2 separate regions of the Homo sapiens genome follow, and region 2 is linked to region 1. Evidence: promoter capture Hi-C in 16 types of primary human blood cells and fetal thymus (Javierre and others, 2016). All regions are on one chromosome and are shown on one strand. Each heading gives the region's core, a stretch centred on a gene start or on the middle of the fragment in contact. The rest is flanking DNA. Distances are from core to core; before and after follow the strand shown.

Region 1 (2,700 bases), core at 11-2,510:
CTCTCATGGCCTATCCTCAGAAGCCACACACCATCTTCTTAATTACTCACAGGTCAGTCTCACCCAAGGTGGAAGGGGTGTGAATTCCAGGAGGTGAGAAACACTGGGTTCATTTTGGAGGCAGGTCAGTGCTACGCATGACAAATCTTCAAGGCTGATTTGACAACATGATTATTGGTTAGTGGAGCATTCCAAGACACTAAGATTCCATGGTACACATGTTGGGGGAAACCACCATGGACTGTCACATTGGGGTATAAGGGTCTGGGAGGCACACAAGTGGAGGGGAATATGTGTGTCTGGAGGAAGAATCCTGGGAAAACAGTACATGCATATGCACTGAGGGCTCCCAGAGCGGAAGACAATAGGAAGCTAGAACTGGGGTACCACTCGGAACTGGGGCTCAGAGGCTGATTCTCCAATTTAGAGAGGCTAGCACGGAACTTCCCTGCCAATTCCAAACTGCTTGGAGCGTCTCTACTCTTGTAAGCTGTTTACTTCCTCCATCCTAAATCAAAGATAGAGAGAAAATGTCAAAGTTCACAGGCTGAAAAGAAGAACTATTATCATAGAATCCCTAAAAGATGGAGATGGTGGCCATCTAGAAGGCTCAGCTGTTCCATGCCGGGAGCAGCCCTAAGTACCACACTCTGTGGGGTTGTTTGTGATGGTTTCAGACCGGACCCCAACAGTCTCTTTTATGGTCCAGACAGACTAAGACCATGTAAGGTCACTCTGATGACTCATACCACAAAGGTCCCGTTTTTCCCCTACTTCATCTGCACAATGGTTTGTTTGCAAAGGTCCTAGCCTGGGGAGCCGGAGTCACCGTGGTTGGAGGAAACAAATTCTCATCCAATGTTTAGTGACCTTATCAAAAGATGCAGGATAGGGAAGGAAAAGAAGGAATAGAAGGACTACAGAGAATGGAGAGGCGGTCACGGAAAAAGAAAGGGAAAGTGCGTGGGAAGAAGGAAGGAGTAAGAAAACACGCACAGCTCACATGAGAATGGTAAGGACAAGGAAATTTATACGCGAAGCCTGGAAGCGCCCCCGCCCCCGACGCACTCCCGCGGGTCCCACGCGTGCTTTCGCCGCCTTTGTCCACAAGGTGGCAGCCTTTGAACTTTCTTCCCCGTAAGAACGCGAAAGGGGGGCAGAGAGGAAGGAGAGAAGGCAAAGCACTGCCCCCACCAAGAACAATTTGAAACCCCCCCCCCCCCCCATCATATTTAAAATCTGGGACAAAGAACCGTCGGGACGGAACTCCTTCCATTGCAAAAGCTCGGCGCGGCCTCGGGAGCTGCCCGGCGGCCCCGGACCGAGGCAGCCCTCCCCTTTAAAAGAAGCGGAGGACAGGATTGGGATCCTTGAAACCCGAAACCCAGAAACAGCATCGGAGCGGAAACCAGAGGGGAAACCTTGAACTCCTCCAGACAATTGCTTCCGGGGAGTTGCGAGGGAGCGAGGGGGAATAAAGGACCCGCGAGGAAGGGCCCGCGGATGGCGCGTCCCTGAGGGTCGTGGCGAGTTCGCGGAGCGTGGGAAGGAGCGGACCCTGCTCTCCCCGGGCTGCGGGCCATGGCCACGGCGGAGCGGAGAGCCCTCGGCATCGGCTTCCAGTGGCTCTCTTTGGCCACTCTGGTGCTCATCTGCGCCGGGCAAGGGGGACGCAGGGAGGATGGGGGTCCAGCCTGCTACGGCGGATTTGACCTGTACTTCATTTTGGACAAGTAAGTGCCGCGAGTTGTCCCCCCCACCCCAGGCTAAGCGGGCGAAAACGCTTTCGCCCCGGGCCGGGCTCGTTGGCAGGGTCGCCTGGGGACAGGAGCGCATCTCCAGGGCCACAGAGGGACCGCGCGGCAGGCGGCGGCGGAGTGCTGCGCCTTTGTTGGGGCGCGCTCCTCCCAGCCTCGGCTCCAGAGCCCGCAGCCGAGGCGACGCCGCTTGCTCGGAAGGGGACAGACTTCTTTTCTGTCTTGCTTTCTGTGTCCCAGGAGCAGGCAAGGGGCTTGGAGGATGCTATTGTCTTGCTGAGTTTCTGTGACTCCCTCCCGTGTTGGTGGGAAAGGCTTGCTTACCAAAGGCAGAACTTGCAGGCACAGGCACTCCTAAAGTTAGAGGCTTGGGCATTTTAAAGCCAATCGTCGCATTTTGTTTTTGTTTTTGTTTTTTTGTTTTGTTTTGAAACGCTGTCCCACGGAAGGCATTATCTTTGCTCCTAATCATGTAATGCATACTTCTCACCGGGCACTGAGTGAGAATGAAAGGCAGGGTTTCTTAACCTTGGCACTTCTGAGATTGAAACCTGGTAATTCTTTGTGGTGGGGGCTGTCCTGCGCGTTGTAGGATGTTTAGCAGCATCCTTGGCCTCTGCCCACTGGATGCCAGTAACATCCCCCGCCCCCCACTCCTTCCTTATTAGTGGTGACAACTAAAAATGCCTCCAGACATTGCCAAATGTCCCTCCCCTTCGACTTGAGTACCCCAGATGTAGTGAATTCAAGCTCTTGGCCATTTGACTGGTGGGCTACCAGGGAGGTGCAGGAGCCCTGGTTTCCTTGCAAAAAGTGGTTAGGCTTTAGGATTTGCTCAAGGGAGAGCTGAATTCTGACCAATGAAGCACTTCCCAAATCCGCATAAGTTTGCCAAGCCACAGTCACCCAAGGAAGCTTCATGCTATCTGCTGAAAACCAGCTT
Region 2 (2,700 bases), core at 172-2,671, 520 kb before region 1:
TTCATGTAATGATATTGAGGGATGCAATACAACGTTAAGAGCATGAATGGTTCTGGAATCTGATTCCTTAGGTTCAGATCCTGGCCCTACTACTTATTGGTTGTGTAACTGAGTAGTTGCTTAAACTCTCTGTACTTCCATTTTCTCACCTATGAAGTGAAGTATAATAATAGTATCTTCACAGATTTTGTGAAGACTGAAAAAGATGATACATGACAAGTCTAGAATGGTGCTTTGGTGTTGATAATTGATTGTTATTACAGTTGATGTATTAATAAATAATAAAAATGTGTTGGATATTCACTCTGTATAAGGAGCAGTGATAGGCTGTTAAATAAAGCAGATCATCAGATCTTTAGGATAATCTGTTTGTCACTTGCTCCCCACCCCTCTCCGTATATCAATCGTGACATTAAAATGTTTTAATGATAATTTATTAAACCTTTATGCTTCCCATTGAGAAAGTGCAAATGGTTATTTTATTGTGTATTCACTATTTAGGGTTTTACTTTAAAAGGAACACTATAAATGTCTGAGTGATGTTAATTTCAAAGATTGTTTATAGCATTCTTTTTGTATTCTATAAAGACACATAGCTTGTAATGAAATTACACTGTTGTGGAGTTATGTGTCCACTAGAGGTCACATTATACTTTTATATTACTTAAAATGTCTTTTATCTTCGTAGTGTCAGTGAAGCTTACTTCAAAGAAAGACAGAGATAGGAAAAGTTCATGTATTGCTTCCTGAAAAAATACAGTTTAAAAAAGGAAAGAAAGAAATTTAAGATGGACTGTTAAAGGAACCAGCTTTATATGCCATAGTTTTATATTTGATAGCTTATTACTCTGTTGGTTAGAAAATTGGTTCGTAGTATGGAAGTAACAATGAGATTTTGGTACCCAAGTCAGAAATAGGAACTGCTTACTCTCAGCCGCATTTTTTGAAATTACTTTTGAATGATTACATGTAGGTACAGTCATGTATAAATGTGTTCTACATTTATTATCTTTTTTTTTTTTTTTTTTTGAGGCAGGGTCTCACCGTGTCCCCCAGGCTGGCATGCAGTGGCACGATCATGGCTCATTGCAACCTTGACCTCCTGGGTTCAAGCAATCTTCATACCTCAGCCTCCCAAGTATTAATATTTGGGACTATAGGCACATGCCCTCTGTCCAGCTAATTTTTTACTTTATGTAGAGATGGGGGTCTCACTGTGTTGCCCAGGCTAGTCTTGAATTCCTGGGCTCAAGGAGTCTTCCCACTTCAGCCTCCCAAAGTGCTGGGATTGCAGCCACCACACCCTGCCTATTACCTATTTTTATTAAAAGGAGTGTGGATTTGGAGTGCTGCCTACTTGGAGAGTGACCTACCCAAGTTACCTAAATTCTCTGGACTTTCAATTTCTATGTAAAGTGTTAATAATAGCTATGGCAATGTTATGTTGAATCACAACATTTAAGTGAAAGTTCTGTGCAAATGATGCAATGAGTCATCAGATAACTGCTGTTGTTTTTAGCCTACTAAGGTACAATCTGATATACCTAATGCTAAATGACGAGTTATTGGGTACAGCACACCAGCATGGCACATGTATACATATGTAACTAACCTGCACATTGTGCACATGTACCCTAAAACTTAAAGTATAATAATAAAAAAAAAGGTACAATCTGGGAAAAAGAAAGGAATCTTTAAATTTTTAGCCTCTTTTTTTCTGAAACAATAGATTATTAGTTTGTACTTACTTCTTGGATAGCCATTGTGGCTAACAATAGATTGTGAAAAATTCATTCATGTGATACTCATTCCGATGCTTGATATTACTGTCTATATGTTACAGCCTTAAGTGTGGAACAGCTATCTGGTTAAAAAAATGAGTACTGACTCCTGGCAGTTTCACATTTTTTGTGGAACTAATAGGTTTAATTGAGTTTATGTGTTGGTATGGTCTATTTTTTACTGATAATTTTGGTCCTTATGCGGATAATGCCAACATTCAAGTGCTGAATATCAAGGTTACCAAGAGATGGGTCAGGTAGTTATGGTGTTATTGAAGTTGGTGCTTAACATGTTTTCATTATCTATCAATCAACCACAAATAAAAAAGGCAATCTTAACTATTGTATTTACAGTGAAAAGGGAAAGCTTTGATTGGCACTGTCAGCATTTAACATGCAAACAATTTTTGAACTTTGGTATGTGGAAATGATTGTGAGCCTAAGTAGAACACTGTTGGCTCAAAACAGGAAGCAAATAGATATTTTTAAAAAATGCTAATTTATTTCTTACTGAAAATGTTTGGTTTTCACTATTCCCCTTCTTGCCTTCCTGAACTCTTAACTGCTGCTGATGGCCCCAGAGTTTGCATGCAGTTCTGCCTGATCTGGGTCTCTTTGACCCCAAAGCCTATAGTCAGACCCTTTTACACTTACCAGATCCTCGAGCATGGGATCTCTTCCTTTTAAAACCTTTATCATCATGACATACTATATGTTTCTTGTATTTGAAATGTTTTCTGGTAAGTACATATTATATACAGACTTTTCGTATTTTATGAATTTTCTTGGTAAGAATCCCCAGTAGATGTCTGTCATGAATGGAAACTATCATGCAAGGTTTTGGGATCCGTTAGATTCTAGGCTTGAGGCTCTGTTGTTGACTCTTCCATGACTTTGGGCAGGTTTTTTTAATCTCATT

Evidence for each region. The method cuts DNA at HindIII sites, captures the fragments that hold promoters and counts their contacts. A CHiCAGO score of 5 or more calls a contact.
Region 2: a contact is called between a fragment that was not itself captured here and the fragment with the promoter of ANTXR1 in region 1, in 8 of 17 cell types (naive CD8 T cells, fetal thymus, megakaryocytes and 5 more). The highest score is 7.1, in naive CD8 T cells.

What each region holds. Positions count from the first base shown.
Region 1 is chr2:69,011,919-69,014,618 of GRCh38, forward strand. It overlaps ANTXR1 (ANTXR cell adhesion molecule 1), which reads left to right and starts at 1,261. Exons shown (of 18, transcript NM_032208.3): 1 at 1,261-1,733. The coding sequence starts at 1,582. The HindIII fragment of the contact is 7,309 bases long and covers 1-2,670 here.
Region 2 is chr2:68,487,320-68,490,019 of GRCh38, forward strand. The region is part of intron 1 of APLF (aprataxin and PNKP like factor); the gene reads left to right. Among named protein-coding and RNA genes, the nearest start is that of APLF, 21 kb to the left of the region's middle. The HindIII fragment of the contact is 1,449 bases long and covers 698-2,146 here.